Regions from separate parts of the Homo sapiens genome. Here all the other regions are linked to region 1. Evidence: promoter capture Hi-C in human tissues and cell types (Jung and others, 2019). All regions are on one chromosome and are shown on one strand. Each heading gives the region's core, a stretch centred on a gene start or on the middle of the fragment in contact. The rest is flanking DNA. Distances are from core to core; before and after follow the strand shown. Region 1 holds the start of C17orf99 (chromosome 17 open reading frame 99). Region 2 overlaps PGS1 (phosphatidylglycerophosphate synthase 1). Region 3 has its middle 34 kb from the start of LINC01993. Region 4 has its middle 18 kb from the start of LINC01993.

The links. The method cuts DNA at HindIII sites, captures the fragments that hold promoters and counts their contacts. A contact is called where the count stands out against the background at its distance.
Region 2: a contact is called between a fragment that was not itself captured here and the fragment with the promoter of C17orf99 in region 1, in 2 of the 25 tissues and cell types used here (lymphoblastoid cells and spleen).
Region 3: a contact is called between a fragment that was not itself captured here and the fragment with the promoter of C17orf99 in region 1, in 1 of the 25 tissues and cell types used here (dorsolateral prefrontal cortex).
Region 4: a contact is called between a fragment that was not itself captured here and the fragment with the promoter of C17orf99 in region 1, in 2 of the 25 tissues and cell types used here (bladder and thymus).

The regions. Positions count from the first base shown.
Region 1 is chr17:78,144,070-78,148,314 of GRCh38, forward strand. C17orf99 (chromosome 17 open reading frame 99) reads left to right here and starts at 2,316. Exons shown (of 5, transcript NM_001163075.2): 1 at 2,316-2,375; 2 at 2,810-2,842. The coding sequence starts at 2,339. RefSeq lists an enhancer at 3,339-3,558. The HindIII fragment of the contact is 10,351 bases long and covers 1-4,245 here.
Region 2 is chr17:78,399,088-78,403,332 of GRCh38, forward strand. It overlaps PGS1 (phosphatidylglycerophosphate synthase 1), which reads left to right. Exons shown (of 10, transcript NM_024419.5): 5 at 261-450; 6 at 1,590-1,768. LOC124900399 (small nucleolar RNA SNORA30/SNORA37 family) reads left to right here and starts at 848; the gene lies at 848-976. RefSeq lists an enhancer at 1,441-1,946. The HindIII fragment of the contact is 6,850 bases long and covers 1-4,245 here.
Region 3 is chr17:78,310,626-78,314,870 of GRCh38, forward strand. No RefSeq gene overlaps it. Among named protein-coding and RNA genes, the nearest start is that of LINC01993, 34 kb to the left of the region's middle. RefSeq lists a silencer at 3,373-3,842. The HindIII fragment of the contact is 4,231 bases long and covers 1-4,230 here.
Region 4 is chr17:78,294,432-78,298,676 of GRCh38, forward strand. No RefSeq gene overlaps it. Among named protein-coding and RNA genes, the nearest start is that of LINC01993, 18 kb to the left of the region's middle. The HindIII fragment of the contact is 9,751 bases long and covers 1-4,245 here.

The DNA.
Region 1 (4,245 bases), core at 1,066-3,565:
CACAGAACATCAGCCTGAAGCGGGTGGCTAGAGAGCTTTTGGGGGCCCCCAAACTCCACACAGGGTGACCTGGGGGTGACCTTGGAGGCGTGGCTGCTGTGTCCTGGCTTACTCTGCAGTCTGGACAGAGGGGCAGCGCAGCCCAGAGAACTGGTCAGCCAGACCGGTGCACAAGTGATTCCTGGGGGCGGAGGGGTGCAGGAGAGATGTTTGGGTCCCCCAAGGCCTGGGGAAAATGGCCCATGAGTCTGCCTTCGCTCTCTGACCCCAGCTTCCCCACAGACTGGGAAGAGGAAGAGCTCCTCATGAGCTGCCTTAACTCAAGGTTCCCCTGAACACCACCACGTGGAGAAAAAGAGTGAGTTTCCCTGGCCTCCAGGCAAGAGGCTGCCAGCAGCCCAGGGCCTGGGCAGCCAGCCAGCTCCCCAGTGACCTCTGGCTCCCTTCAGTCTTCAGTTCCCTTCCCCACCCGCCTTCAGCAGAAGTGAGAACAGACTTTGGGAAGGGAAGGGAGTTTTACTAAGAAACTAAGAGAAAATGCTCTTGCTCCCCAGCTGGGAGAAACCGAAAACAGAGAGGCCGGTGGGTGCACAGGAGGCAGCCTCCATCCCCGGGACCATGGGTAGCAAGGTGCAGAAACGGACTCATGCCAGCTGGGAGAGGGGGCCACCGAGGGGTCAACAGAGCCAGTCTGCAGTGACCTCCAGGACACCTGCACCTGCCTCCCCACCATCCTTCTGGCCACTCCCTGGTCAGCAGGGCCACTCCCTCAGACCAGCTTCCCAACACACCCAGGCCTCCGGTGCAGCAAGTGCCTGGGAAAGGCTGAGAGGAGAGCTGGGCCGGGGCTGTGAGTGGCCTCCCTTGGTCAGGTGTTCACTCCTGGACGGTGCCCAGGGGCAGAGAGTGTGATTGACCGGTCAGGAGCCACAGGTGGCAGCAGCTCCCACAGGAGGCAATGGTCACCTGGTGGCAGGGGACATATTCCTGAAGGAGGCAGCCAGAAAAGGCATTCCCCACACAAAGTGTGGGAAACTGAGCCGGGCCAGAAAGTGACAGGCTGGTCCAGCAGCCCCAGGCTGAGCTTGGGCACAAAGCCGGGTGCAGTGGCCCACAGCGGAGCTGGCAGGGCCCCAGCCTCAATCCCTTGCGCCCTTACATCTCTCTGTGTTCCGGGGAATGCCTGGCCCCAGCCCTGGCCTCGGGGCTCTGGGAGGCCCTGCTCACCCCCACCCTCCCTGCATGTGCAGGAGGCTCTGTGGCTGAACTCTGCACACACACTGCCTGCGATGCAGCTGGGTCTGCTGCTGGCCAAGGCCAGCACTGGGGCCAGTTCCCTGGGGAATGACCATCCATGTGACCTCCCACCACCCTCAGTGGGGCCTGAGGGACTTCTGAAGGGCGGTGCTTGGGCACACCACGCTCCGGGACCCAGGACTCCAGGACCCATCACACTCCAGGACCAGGGGCCTCGTCGGTCTGGGGTTTCATTCTGGGGCTGGGTGCAGCCTTGGCCTCCCGGCTGTGAACCATCATGGGTGGGGCTGCCTTTTCTCAGCCCAGCAGGTCCCCAGCTGCTTGGAAAGGCCCCAGTGATTACATGAGGGTCACCTGGGTCATGTAGGACGGGCTCCTCCTCTCAAAATGAGAAGACTCACAGCCTTCATTCCCCTTGCCGCGTAGCATGGTGCTCACGGGCTCCAGAAGTTACAGCGTGGACATCTTTTTTTTTTTTTTTTTTTTTGAGATGGAATCTCACTCTGTTGCCCAGGCTGGAGTGCAGTAGCGTGATCTTGGCTCACTGCAACCTCCGCCTCCTGGGTTCAAGCAATTCTCCTGCCTCAGTCTCCCGAGTAGCTGGGATTACAGGCGCACGCCACCACGCCCGGCTGATTTTTAGTAGAGATGGAGTTTCGCCATGTTGGCCAGGCTGGTCTCGAACTCCTGACCTCAGGTGATCCGCCCATCCAGGCCTCCCAAAGTGCTGGGATTACAGGTGTGAGCCACTGTGCCCCGCGGAGCATGGACACCTTCTGCCCACCACGTGAGCCCGGGATCCTGCGGCTCAGAGGTGACTGCTGAGTCTAAGCCCTGGTCTGGCTTCAAGGTCCAAACTCCTTCCACTTCTCTGGGGATTGAGGGGGAGTTTGCTGTACCGGGCCTGCCGGGGCTCTCTGGGCCCCGCCCTGGTAGCTGAGGCCCTGGGGTGCTGCGGCCTCCAGGTTATCTCCCCACTGCAGGCACCCACCCAGGGAGCATCCCAGGGGCCTCAGGGTGGGGGAGGCCAGGAACTAGGAGGTTCTCACTGCCCGAGCAGAGGCCCTACACCCACCGAGGCATGGGGCTCCCTGGGCTGTTCTGCTTGGCCGTGCTGGGTGAGTCCACCAGGGACGTGATGGTGGGGCTGCTGCTGGGGCCTTGAGGTCTTGGGCTCAGGTGGGGGTACTGGGAGCACAGGAGAGATGAGGCCTGAAGGAAGGGCACCTCTGGAAACATGGACAGAGAGGGAAAGATCTGGGCTTGAGTCTCGGACCAGCCCCTAAACTTGCTGTATATGTGGTCCAGGGATTTCTGCACCATTCTGGGCTCACTACTTACCCATCTGCGAAATGGGCGGATGAGAGGCGATGTTGTGGGGGGAGGGGCGCAAAAGAGCTTTTGTGAGTGATGGTGCCAGCTGAGTCCTGGGGCCTCACTACCAAGAATCAGCCTGCTCCTCCCTCCTGGCTTCAGCAGGTGGGTCTCGAGGCTGTCTCTGGTCTCCCCTCCACACCAGGCCCTCTCCTTATCGCCCTTACCTCTCTTACAGCTGCCAGCAGCTTCTCCAAGGCACGGGAGGAAGGTAAGTGGCATAGCCTGCTGCAGGGAGAAGTCCCCCAGCTGGGACCCTGGTGTCAGAACCCCCATGGTGGAGGGCGCCTCGGCTGGGAAGGGAGTTACTAGTGGGGAGGTGTGTGCTGGAGGATGGCTGGACAGTTCTGGAACACTCTCTTCACCCTGCAGGGCCCTAGGAGTGATGGAGATGGGCAGGCCAAGCAGGCCAGTGTGGGGACCTCCGGGGCACACAGGCAGGGAAGTTGCTCAGCTTCCAGCCTTTGGCTGGGCTGTTTGGAGGGAAGATTCCCTGGGCAGGTGCATCCTCATCACTCTGCCCCAGGTCCCTGATCGGGAGCAGAAGCCCCCCCTGAGACCCTCACAGCTCTGCCCGGTGGGCGAGGCCCCGTGGAGGGCTGGGGAATTCTGGTGGGGCCTGGGAGGTTGGGATTCTCTGACCAGGAGGAGGGCCGTGAGAGGATGGTGAAGTTAAGGCTCCCCCAGGGGCCTGACATACACGAGGCTGCCTTCCTTATAGAGGCAGGTGGGGAGTGGAGAGTGTCTGGGACCCAGCTGGGTACAGGACCAGGGAGGAGGGGACGCTGGGGAAGGTCCCTGACAGCCCCTAGCCTGGCCTGCTTCCTCATCTTTGCCTGCTCCATCTTTCTGCCTGCACTTTCTTGCCCCATCCTTCCCTCCCCTCCCCTCATGTCCATTAAGGTGAGGATGGACAGTCACCTCCCTATATTGTCCCAACTAACCCTTGCCCCTTGTTGCTAGGCCATCAGGTTACAGAGCAGGGCCTTCCCCCTCTATTTTGCTAAAGGGCAGGTACAGGGTAATGATGACGCCATTCTCACTTGAATGAGGCCCAGGTTGAACCATTATTTCCTCATTTGCTTTAAAAACGGATACATTGTTGGTGTGGCTGCTAAAAAGAGAGCAGGCAGCTGGGGCTCCGGGAAGTACCTGTGCAGGGCAGTTCCGCCTCCCCCTCTTGGCTGGCTCCCGACTTCTCTGATTCTTGCCAACCAAGTCCTGCTAACTAAACTCCTAAGAGACTGACTGATAAATCATTTATTCATTCAACAAATACTTGAGCACCTGTTTGGTTGCAGGCACAATTCCAGGCCCTGAGAATGTGGCAAGGCACTGAAACAAACCCCTCCTGTATCTTACATTCTAGTGGGGGTTGGGGGGACAGATGATAATAAAAATAAGAACATTCAGTGGCTTATGCCTGTTATCCCGCACTTTGGGAGGCTGTAGCCAAAGGATCAGTTGAGCCCAGGAGTTCAAGACCAGCCTGACCGACACAGTGAGACCCCCATCTCTTAAAAAAAAAAAAAGAAAATGGCTCGATCTCAGCTTACTGCAACCTCTGCCTCCTGGGGTCAAGGGATTCTTCCACCCAGCCTCCTGAGTAGCTGA
Region 2 (4,245 bases), core at 979-3,478, 250 kb after region 1:
TACCAGGAGAAGGGTGAATGGGTGCTGTGTGGCAAGAAGAGCAGGCGTCTGCCACGCTGAGGACTTCAGGCCTGAGACATGGCCAGCATGCAGGACAGAGGTTGGCCTGGAAGTCCTCTGGCTAGGAGTAGCCCCAGCTGGTGTGACTGATTCAGGTGGACGGCACAGGTGAAGGCGAGGCCACGTGGAGGTGGCTCCTCATTGGGGGCAGGACGCCTTCCTGTTGTGAGTCAGGTGCCGTTTTCTCTGTCCGTGTTCAGGCCGGAAGAACTCCCGCACAATGCTGCTCCCACTCCTGCGGAGGTTCCCAGAGCAGGTCCGAGTCTCCCTCTTTCACACGCCGCACCTCCGTGGGCTGCTTCGGCTCCTCATCCCTGAGCGCTTCAACGAGACCATCGGCCTCCAGCACATTAAGGTGTACCTCTTCGACAACAGCGTCATCTTGAGCGGGTGAGTGCTTCCCACCGTCAGTGCTTTTGCCCTCCTGCTCTGCAGGCTGGAGGGCAGTGGAATAGGAACAGTGGGAAACCCGTTCCCCTCAGTCTTGGAGAACCTGCTTGTAGGTCTGGCTGCTGTGCACCCGCGGCACCTCCCCGACACTGTCTCTGCCACTGAGGCTAGAATTCCCCGGGGGCTGACTGGAAGCCACTGTTGACAGGGCACTTAGTCTGTGCTGGCCACTCAGGTATGTTGTCTGTTTCCACCCTCAGTGACCCTCTGTAGTATTTTCCTCACTGTGTACATGTGGAAACAGATCAGAGAGGATGAGTCACTTTGTCAGGTAGACAGAGCCAGAAAAATAAACAAGAGTCAGACCTGGAAGTCCAGGTCCTTAGGCTGATAAATATGGGCCCTTTCACAGGCCCTCCCCTCGGCAGTGGGGCCAGGATTGGGTTGCTGGTGCTGAGAGAAAGCCCTTGATTGCATCCTTGCTCTGGGACTGTACCAGTGGCAGCTGTCACTTAGTGGGACAGAGAGAACAAACAAACATGGGCGCTGATAAATAGCCCTGCATGGGCCGGGCGCAGTGGCTCACGCCTGTAATCCCACATTTTGGGAGGCTGAGGCAGAGGGATCACCTGACGTTAGAAGTTCAAGACCAGCCTGGACAACATGGTGAAGCCCCGTCTCTACTAAAAATACAAAAATTAGCTGGGTGTGGTGGCACACACCTGTAATCCCAGCTACTCGGGAGGCTGAGGCAGGAGGATCACTTGAACCTGGGAGGCGGAGGCTGCAGGGAGCCAAGATCATGCCACTGCACTCCAGCCTGGGCGACAGAATGAGATTGTCTCAAAAAAAAAAAAAGCCCTGTGTGGTTAGTTGACTTTCTGTGTCTGCATCTCCTCTTCTCAGCTACACTGTCGGCTCCTTGAGAGGAGGAGGCTGTGGGTCACTTTGCTGTGTCACCTTGGATCAACTCTGGCTTTGTCTTTTGCACGTGTTCATTGCTGAGTAGCTATTTGTTAACTGCATCTTGACCTGAGTTTGTCACCCCCCTGCTAGTTCACCTGAGACCTGGGTCACCAGGACACGCTGCTGCATACCCTTGCCTGAGTCCTCCTCACCTGCATCTTCCCTCCCTGTAGTGCAAACCTGAGTGACTCCTACTTCACCAACCGCCAGGACCGCTACGTGTTCCTGCAGGACTGTGCGGAGATTGCCGACTTCTTCACGGAGCTGGTGGACGCGGTGGGGGATGTGTCCCTGCAGCTGCAGGGGGACGACACGGTGCAGGTGGTGGATGGGATGGTGCATCCTTACAAAGGTAGGGGCTGCCGCTGACACCCTTCTATGGCTGTGGGTGGGGTGGAGTGAGGGCCCGGGAGAGCACAACTCTAGGTGGTTCTGCCACAGGCATAGGGGACTTGGGTGGCAAGGCTTCATTCTGCTTTTGTCCTTGAAGCCAGACAGATGTGACTCACTGACCATCAGTCATGCTCTGTGGGTGAGAGAGCCAGCCCAGAAAGGTGGGAGCTTGGGCTTGGGACTCCTACTCCTTGAGGCGGAGTCACTCAGGTTTGCACTACAGGGAGGGAAGACGCAGGTGAGGAGGACTCAGGCAAGGGTATGCAGCAGCGTGTCCTAGTGACCCAGGTCTCAGGTGAACTAGCAGGGGGGTGACAAACTCAGGTCAGGACGCAGTTAACAAATAGCTACTCAGCAATGAACACGTGTGCCTGGGCGAGTGACCCAGAAGCCTGCCCTGCATCACAGGAAGCAACCAGGCCAGCAGCTGTTCGCCTAGGGCCCATTTCCCCAAGCCTATCACCTGGGCCTGTGGCTCCCAGCTCCCTTGAGCTCTGTGGCCCCCTGCCTGGAAAATGAAGTGGAAGAGCTCTCAGCTCTGCCCACTGGAACCAGGCAGGTTCTGGCGTGAGTGTTCTGGGGCATTTGCATTCCTGTGATTCCTGCGGCTGTGGCTCCCCCATGGCCTTTAGAGAGCTGCTGCTGGATTTGCAGCAGTGTCTGAACTTGGGGAGGAGGAGCTGAAGTTGGAACTTGTTGGGAGAAGAGCTCTCTGCGTCTTGTGGACCTAGAATGGAAGCATTTCAGTGGGCCGTCTGGTGGAAGCCCTGTCCTTGTGTCAGGGGAGCCCTGGGCCTCAGACCCCGACCGTGATGGTGTGATGCTCTGCCTGCCGCCATGCACTGTTCCTACTGTTGTATTTTGAATTTCATCTGTAAAGAGCTTGTGGAGCTCTGTATCTCTCTTGCTGAGTGCCTACCTAGCATCCTCAGCTTTGCCTTTTGGCCCAGAAAGCCTAAAATATTTACCATCTGACCCTTAAAGAAAATGTGTGTGGATCCCTGGTCTAATGTAACGGGCCAGGCATGGATATGAGAGAAAACAGGCCATGCTTAGGCCAGGATGAGAGCCAGCACGCTCCGAGCAGGAGCGGGGAGACTCGAGCCCAGCTGTGCTTGGGAGAATGAGTCCACAGAGAGGCTCAGGGTGTGCGCAGGGCCCCCCGGTGCTCCTCCCTCCGGCAGCCCTGTCCAGCATGTGGCAGTGTGACTCCTTTCTCCCCTGGAGGGTGTTGGCATCAACAGGCTAGACTCCTGCATGGGATGGTCCTTCTCTTTGTTCTGTAGCCCAGCCCTGAAAGGCACTGAGTGTCTGTTCCTGCCCCCAGCTCAGACCATGCAAGCCAGCAAGGATGACCTGGGACAGCCCTCCTTCCCTGTTTCACTTCCCTGATCAGCCTTGCCAAAGCCTTGTTGTTTTATCAATCGTTTATCAGACAATCAACTTTGGACAGTTGATATTCTCCATTTTTGTATCATTTTCATTCTAGTAATTTCTATTCATATATATATATATATATATATATATATATACACACACACACACACATATGTATGTATATATTTTTGAGATGGAGTTTTTGCTCTCGTCACCCAGGCTGGAGTGTGGTGGCACGATCTCAGCTCACTGCAACCTCTGCCTCCGAGGTTCAAGTGATTCTCCAGCCTCAGCTGCCCGAGTAGCTGGGGTTACAGGCACACAACACCACACCTGGCTAATGTTTGTACTCTTGGTAGAGACAGGGTTTCACCATGTTGGTCAGGCTGGTCTCAAACTCCTGGCCTCAGGTGATCTGCCCGCTCCTGCCTCCGTAAGTGCTGTGCTGGGATTATAGGCGTGAGCCACTGTGCCCGGCCTGTTCTTATTTTTATTTTTTGCTTCCCTATACTGTATTCTTGGTTTTATTCTGTTGTTTCTTTCCCCTGTCTTCCTGAGTTGGATGCTTAACTCATTAATTTTCAGCTTTGTCTTGTCTGATAATAGCATCTTTCCCTTCAGTGTGTCTGCATGGTCACCTGTCACCAGTGTCTTGTCCGAATACAAAAGGCACCCCATGCAGAGCCTGAGCCTGCCCGTTCTTCCTCTCTCTCAGGCACTGTCACTGCTGTGGGAAGCTTTCCCACATGGTGATGTGCTTATCCAAGGTGATGGCTTGCCCTGTGACCCCATCTGTGGAATACGCATGCTCCTTTTTTGGTTATACTTGCATGTCTTTATTTGACTGAGCTTCCTTATTGAAGTAGAACATGCACCCCGAGCACCAGTCGCAGGTGTACAGCCATGAACCTGCTGCTAGTGGACCTGCTTCCTGGAGGCCCCCCGTATGTCCCCCCCAAGGAATTATCCCAAAGGTAACCACTATCCTGATTTCTCTCCCTGTCAGTTTGTCTTGCCTGGTTTTGAGCTTGTTTGTAATTGGAATGATACGTCGACATG
Region 3 (4,245 bases), core at 865-3,364, 170 kb after region 1:
GGCCGAGGTGGGCGGATCACCTGAGGTCAGCCTGGCCAACGTAGTGAAACCCCATCTCTACTAAAAAAAAAAAAAAAAATGCAAAAATTAGCTGGGCGTGGTGGTGGGCACCTGTCATCCCAGCTACTCGGGAGGCTGAGGTAGGAGAATTGCTTAAACCCAGAGACAGAGGTTGCAGTGAGCCGAGATCGTGCCACACTGCACTCCAGCCTGGGTGACACAAGACTCCATCTCAAAAAAAAAAAAAAAAAAGTACGTTTCCTAGCATATTTTATGGACATGAAAGCAAATGCTTGCATATACATATACACTTTCTTCTTTCTTTCTTTCTTTTTTTTTTTTTTTTTGAGATGGAGTCTCGCTCTGTCGCCCAGGCTAGAGTGCAGTGGTACAATCTCGGCTCACTGCAACTTCCACCTTCTGGGTTCAAGTGATTCTCCTGCCTCAGCCTCCTGAGTGAGTAGGTAGGATTATAGGTGCATACCACCACACCTGGCTAATTTTTATATTTTTTTAGTAGAGATGGGGTTTCACTATGTTGGCCAGGCTGGTCTCAAGCTACTGACCTCAGGTGATCCGCCCACCTCAGCCTCCCAAAGTGCGGGGATTACAGGCATAAGCCACCACGCCCCGCCAAACTTTCTTCTTTCTACCCCCATACAAATCATAGCATGCCATACACACTCTTCCGCACCTTGATTTTTATCCCTTAATATGTATTAGACTGTCAGACTGTCCTCTATCAGCCTTGAAAGGGCTCTCGCTCTCTCCCTTCCAGTGTTCCTTTGGACAGATGCGCCAGCACCTATGTGCCCCATTGCTGCATTTTGCACTGTGTACCTGTCAGGGTTCTGTGCAAGGCGAATCCACCTCAGGTGGTTCAAGCCAAAAGGGATTTTAACATAAGGAATCAGGAATTCATAAAATCATTGGAAAAGATTCATGGGCTTGAGAAAAACAATCACTGGGAGAGATGGAAGGTCAAAGCTTTCTGGGGTAAGGCCACGCCTCCACCACAGTCCCCGATCCTCCCCACTCCCACACCCACAAATCAGGCACTGAGATGGCAGAATGGGAAATGGAGCCACTGCCAACCAGTGCTTCTGCTGGAACCCACTTTCATACCCATGCAGCTGCAGAAAGACAAGAGTCTGTCTTCCTTCCACTTTCCAATCCCACAAGAACGCATTGATTTGCAGAGAGAAAGTCACATCTAGAGAGAACCTGGGAAAGAGTTTCTAGCTTTCCCACTGCTGTGGTCTGAATGTAACCCCCATCATAACTCCATGCAATAGTGTTAAGAGGTGGGTTCTTTGGGAGGTGATTAGGTCAGGAGAGCTTCTCCCTCGTGAATGGGATTAAGACCTTTATAAAAGAGGCTTTGAAGGCTGGACGTGGTGGCTCACGCCTATAATCCCAGCACTTTGGGAGGCTAAGGCTGGCAGATCACCTGAGGTCAGGAGTTCAAGACCAGCCTGGTCAACATGGCGAGACCCGTCTCTATTAAAAATACAAAAAGTTAGCTGGGTGTGGTGGCCCAGGCCTGCAATCTCAGCTACTCGGAAGGCTGAGGCAGGAGAATCACTTGAACCTGAGAGGCAGAGGTTGCAGTGAGCTGAGATGGCGCCACTGCGCTCCAGCCTGGGTGACACAGGGCGAGGCTCTGTCGAAAGAAAGAAAGAGAGAGAGAGAGAGAGAAAGAAAGAAAGAAAGAAAGAAAGGCTTTGTAGAGTGTTCAATTCAGCTCATTTTTTGCCCTTCCATCCCTTCTGCCCTGTAAGGATGCAGTGTTCATTCTCTCCGGAGGGTGCAGCACCAAGTCACCATCTTGGAAGCAGAGAGCAGCCCTCACCAATACCAAACCTGCCAGCACCATGATCTTGGACTTCTCAGCCTCCAGAACTGTGAGAAATACATTTCTGTTCTTTGAAAATTACCCAGTCTAGGTATTTTGCTAAAGCAGCATGAATGGACCAAGACACCAACCATCTAAAAAAAAGATTAAAGGAGCTGATTCCACCAGCCAGCATCTTGCTGATCTTCCACACCATGGCATAAAAAGCAGCAAGAGCTTTCACCTAATGCTATACAACTGTGCCCCAAACACACACACACACACACACACACACACACACCCTCTCCCCAGAATGAAAAACCTGATGTTCTGATCAGTCACTCTCCAGCTGTGGGTGGTGCTCACTCCTCTTCTGGGCAGAAATCCCATGAGATTAATTAAAGTCACCCATCCCCAGGGCCCCCAGAGGCATAAGTATCATTTGCAATATAGATTTTTCCAATAGTGCCCTCTTGGAATTGTGCAGTGTGCAGCCTGGACAACATTATGTGGTGACCCTGGGTCCTATACTTTATGTAGAATAGTAAGGAAAAAAAAAGAGGGAAAAAAGGAAATTAGTTAACATAAACAAAAATGAACAGGATAAAGGGGAAAGGTGTATGGTGGTCCCTCACTCTGCCATAGTTTCTACTGATAACTTCCTCCTTCCACCATCTAGCCATAATCCCTCCCCCTTGGCCAGCACCTCATATGGTCGTGGTTCTACCTGGGGTAACCCCATCTGTATATAATACAGCCGTCCCGCTGCAGGCCAGGTCGTGAACCAAGCTTGCAATAGGAGATACCCGTGACACAGCCCCTGCCCTTGAGAGGAGTCTCAGGCAGTAACAAACACAGGCCACTGGCTGGGCATGGTGGCTCATGCCTGTAATCCCAGCACTTTGGGAGGCCAAGGCGGGCGGATCATTTGAGGTCAGGAGTTCGAGACCAGCCTGGCCAACATGGTGAACCCTCATCTCTACAAAAAATACAAAAATTAGCTAGGTGTGTTGGCGCGCGCCTGTAGTCCCAGCTACTTGGGAGGCTGAGGTGGAAGAATCACTTGAACCCGGGAGGTGGAGGTTGCAGTGAGCCGAGATGGCACCACTGCACTCCAACCTGGGTGACATAGCAAGACTCTGCCAAAAAAAAAAAAAAAAAAAAAAAAAGCTGGGGGAAGGGTGAGCGTAGAAAATAGTTGTAGTTAAGAGACGGGGTTGGCTGGTTCAGCTTCCAAAGTCTAGGATTTGGTATCTGATAGTAAGAGCAGTGGCCAATGCGGGGGTCTCCAGGCAGGGCCCTAAGCACCGCGCCAGGTTAATGCTCCTCGCAGCTCTTGGGCAGGACTGACTGTTGGAGGCTTGTCCAGCAGAGACAGGAATGAGGGGACCGAGGACCCAGGCATGATGGGGCGGGGGCGCGGGGACCTGCAGCCCAGCGGGCTCGGACGACCTCGGACCCCCGCCGCTCCACGGGCAGGAAGGGAGCCCGGAGCGGCGCGGGTGCGCATTGATCGTGGTGCGGATGCAGCCGCTGCGGCGCGGCCCCGGCTTCTCTGCGAGCCCGTGCCCGGGCCGGGCTGTCGGGAACTCGGCCCGGCTCCACTTGCTCGCGCTTACTGGAAACGTGCTCCCGAGCGGCGCAAGGCTCGGCGGCTGGAGCCCGGGGCGGCCCTTGGCCGAGGGCAGGGCCGAGCCAGGTGCTCGGGCGCCCCAGGCTGCCGCGCCCTGCTGGGCCACCCTGGGCGCGTGCCACCCCCGGGGACCCGTCCCGTCCTGAGGGCGCCCAGGGCCTCCCAGCGCCGCTCTCCCCAGGGTGAGCGGGAGGAGGGAGGGAGCTGGGGGCAGCCCGGGGAAGCCGTGGGGCGGGCTTTCAGCAGCTGCGAGGCGAACCCGCCTCCCTTCCCGGTATTCTCGCGGCCACCCGGTGGAAGGTGGCGCCACGCCAGGGCCAGGCGGAGGCGGGGAGCCAAGCCCGCAGCCACGCCCTGCCCAGGGCGCAGGTGGGCTCGGCTGGAGGAGGTGCTGGGGGTGGGTGTGTCTCCTGACACAGGAAGAGCTGCCTCCTGGCTGCCCCAGTCACAGAAATGTTTATTGAGCACCTACTAGGCAAGGTGCGACCACTGCAGTGGGGGTGGGGGCACTTTTCTCCCCGGGCGTGTATATTTATTTATTTATAAACCATAGGCACTTTATTACTGGGTTTATATATTATGTATCCATAGAAGTTGAGATTTAAAGAGGATGAATTAAAAAATAGAAACAGAGGGGTTGTTTTCCTTTCCGTATGCCAGTGAGTTGTCTTATACATGTCCCACTTTGGAGACCTGGGTTTAGTGGCTGTATCCTGCTGGGCGCCCCCCTCCCCAGAGCTGGAGACAAAACCCCCACCCGCCCCCTGGTTCACGTCAT
Region 4 (4,245 bases), core at 973-3,472, 150 kb after region 1:
TGACCGTGAACGGTGGTGAGTGAGGCAGGTGGAGAGTGTGACCATGAAGAGCAGGGCAGACTCCCCAGAGTACTGTAGGGAGGCAGCTGCAGTCTGGATGAAGAGTACACGCCAAGGCCAATTGTGGTTGCTGGTGGGATGCAGCTGGGAAAGCGAGAGTGAGGACCCCAGACCCTGGCGGCTGCAATGCCTGGGGGCATGTGACATGGTGGTGAAGGGGGAATTGTGTGTTGATCCTACCCTGGCCGCAAGTCCAGGCTCACAGGCCATGGCCACTGACCACAGGAAGAGGCCTCCCTCCTTAAAGTCGGGAGAATATCCCAGAACTAAGGCTAGTCCTGCATCCTGGCCGGGAATCCCAGGCCAACACCCTCCCCGCGATCTTAGGTGCTTAGCAGCCCTGGCTGGTGACCCCTGGGCGGAGAGAGTACGGTAATTTGCAAGAAATCCAAGAAAGCCCTGGTGAGTGGTTGCTTTTCCTATGTTGCAACCATCCGCGAAGTGAATGCTGCTCTGTGTCTCTATTGTTGTTTTGATGGTGTTCGAGATGATGAGGAGAACCTGAGTCACAGCCTTTACGAGTCTGATTTCCTCAATTTACAGGAGCTGCCTACGCGTTCTGGAAGAATTCACATGCTGATTTGTAGGCGGCCTGGCCAGGTGCTTCGGAGACTCCAGCAGCATCGAAGGTGTGATTTTAGATCTGTACTCCCGAGGCTCTTGTGTTATTTAAGAAGGTCAGTGTGAGGCCGGGCGCGGTGGCTCACACCTGTAATCCCAGCACTTTGGGAGGCCGAGGCGGGCGGATCACGAGGTCAGGAGATCGAGACCATCCTGGCTAACACAGTGTAAACCCCGTCTCAACCAAAAATACAAAAAATTAGCCGGCGTGGTGGTGGGCACCTGTAGTCCCAGCTACTCGGGAGGCTGAGGCAAGAGAATGGCGTGAACCCAGGAGGCGGAGGTTGCAGTGAGCCGAGATCACGCCACTGCACTCCAGCCTGGGCAACATAGCAAGACTCCGTCTCAAAAAAAAAGAAAAAAAGGTCAGTGTGGTTAAATGCATAAGAAGTAATCAGTGTGTTAAATGTATGAGTTAATTGAGCATAGCCCAAGTGAAAGTGATTGTGTTTTCATATTAAAATTAGATTTATAAAGAGAATGCTAAAACTTGTTGGATTTTGGAATGCAAGGTCTAAGTAAAGGTAGGTTTTAATATTGACAACTTTTACACTTGATATATTGACTCTTTTTTTTTTTGAGACTAGACTCTGTTGCCCAGGCTGGAGTGCAGTGCTGTAATCATGGCTCACTGCAGCCTCAACCTCCCAGGCTCAAGCAATCCTCCTACCTCAGTCTCTCAAAGTGCTTAGACTACAGGTGCATGCCACCATGCCCGACTAATTTTTTAAAAAAAATTTTTAGCGAGATGACTTAGTGAGAGGTCTCACTAAATTGTCCAGGCTAATCTCAAACTCCTGGGCTCAAGCAATCCTCCCACCTCAGCCTCCCAAGTAGCTGGGACTACAGGCACGCACCACCACACCCAGATAATTTTCAATTCTTTTTTTTGTCGATAGGGTCTTACTATTTTGTCCAGGCTGGTCTCAAACTCCTGGGCTCCAGCAATCCTCCCACCTCGGCCTCCCAAAGTGCTGGGATTACAGGTATGAGCCACCGTGGCCAGCCTTGACTCAATTCAAATTCAAGTCACTAAGTCTTCCTTGGAAAGCACAAAACCTCCCCCAGGCATTAAAATATTCAAGTGACACAGAAAAGGGAGAGGTGAAGAGGAGCTACCACCTGGAGGAGAAGGTGGGCTCTGAGCCGGGCCTGGAGCCAGGCAGGGAGGTCTTCTTAGCACCCAGCAAGCTGCACCACCCAAGCACTGCCCTCTGCCACCCCACCTCTGCTGGCATGGAAACCTCCCTCTGGGGGTCCCTCTGGCTTCTTGGGTGGAGCCTCTTTTTTTGAGACAGTCTCACTCTGTTGCCCAGGCTGGAGTGCAGGGGCACAATCTCGCCTCACCGCAACCTCTGCCTCCCGACTTCAAGCGATTCTCCTGCCTCAGTCTCTTCGCATAGCTGAGATTACAGGCACCTGCCACCACGTCTGGCTAATTTTTGGGTTTCACCATGTTGTCCAGGCAGGTCTCGAACTCTTGATCTCAAGCAATCCACCTGCCTCGGCCTCCCAAAGTGCTGGGATTACAGGCGTGAGCCACCACGCCTGGCCTTGAGTCGAGTCTTGATGTCTCAATCACACTGCCCCAAATCCATACACTTGTTTATTCATTCAGCAAACAATAAAGCACCTGGACACTCCAGGTTCCATGCCAGGAGCTGGAGTTCACAGGAGAGCACAGGCCTCGGCCCTGGGGCTGAGTCTTGCCGCCTTCTTCATGGCTTGTGACTGCTGTGGTCTGAATGCTGGTGTCCCGCAGATTCATGTGTTGGAACTTAATGCCTAATGGGATAGTACTAAGAGGTAGGGCCTTAGGGGGCTGGTTAAGTCATGAGGGCTTCACCCTCACAAATGGGATTCATGCCCTTATAAAAGAGGCTTGAGGGAGCATGTTTCCCCTTCCGCCACATGAGGACACAGCAAGAAGGTGCCGTTTGTAAGGAATGGGTCCTCGCCAGACACCAGATCGGCCAGTGCTTTGATGGTGGACTTCGCAGCCTCCAGCACTGTGAGCAATGAATTTCTGTCGTTAGAAAATTACCCAGTCTAAAGTATTTTGTCAGTCCGGGCGCGCTGCCTCACGCCTGTAATCCTAGCACTTTGGGAGGCCAAGGCGGGTGGATCACCAGGTCAAGAGATTGAGACCATTCTGGCCAACATGGTGAAACCCCGTCTCTACTAAAAATATAAAAATTAGCTGGGCCTGGTGGCACACGCATGTAATCCTAGCTACTCAGGAGGCTGAGGCAGGAGCATCGCTTGCACCTGGGAGGCAGAAGTTGCAGTAAGCCGAGATCACGCCATTGCACTCCAGCCCGGGAGACAAGAGTGAAACACCATCTCTAAATAAATAAATAAGAAAGTATTTTGTCATAGCAGCCTGAGCAGACTAAGCCCCTGGCCCTCACTCAGCCTCTCCTCAGCCTGCCACTCCTGATGGGGACCTACTCTGGCTCTGTCCTCCCCACCCAAACACAGCACCCCCACAAGCAGTGGGGAGAGGTCCCCAGTGGAGCAGGAGTCCTCCTGGACTTTGTACCTGGGGCCACCCCAGCAGTTACCGCTTTAAAAAGACCACAACAAATGCTAAGCTTTGGTGTTCTTTATAGAATTCTTTTTAAAAAACAAAAAAATGATCATCATGTTTTGTTTGTTTTCCATTTAGAAGAGAAACACTTTCTCATTATTTTAAAAATAGAAACATTACAGAATAGGTACTGTGGAAAGTGAAACTGTCCTTTCCCCCGCCAAGCCTCTGTCCCTCTCTTCTTTCTTCCTGGGGGCTCAGCCTGCCAGGGCCACTGAGCTCTACCATACAGGTTATAGCTACCTGTCACTTCTTTTTTTTTTTTTTTTTTTTGGCCCAGGCTGGAGTGCAGTGGCACGATCTCGGCTCACTGCAACCTCCGCCTCCCGGGTTCACGCCATTCTCCTGCCTCAGCCTCCCAAGTAGCTGGGACTACAGGCGCCCGCCACCACGCCTGGCTAATTTTTTGTATTTTTAGGAGAGATGGGGTTTCACTGTGTTAGCCAGGATGGTCTCGATCTCCTGACCTCGTGATCAGCCCGCCTTGGCCTCCCAAAGTGCTGGGATTACAGGCGTGAGCCACCGCGCCCGGCCCTTAATTTTCTTTTTAATGCTTCTCCGTATTTTCTAGCTTTCTACAAAGATTAAGTAATCCATAAATAATTTAAATAAAGTATCATTTAAAAGTCTATTCTTTTTGGCCGGGCGCTATGGCTCACGCCTGTAATCCCAACACTTTAGGAGGCCTAGGCAGGCGAATCACCTGAGCCCAGGAGTTCAAGACCAGTCTGGGCAACATGGTGAAACCCAGTCTCTACTAAAAATATAAAAATTAGTCAGGCTTGATGGTGCATGCCTGTAGTCCCAGCTACTCGGGAGACTGACGCAGGAGAATCGTTAGAACCCAGGAGGTGGAGGTTGAAGTGAGCTGAGACTGTGCCACTGCACTCCAGCCTGGGTGACAAAGCAAGACCTTGTCTCAAAGAAAGAAAAGAAAAAAAAAAAGTCTATTCTCTTTGATTCAATATTTACTC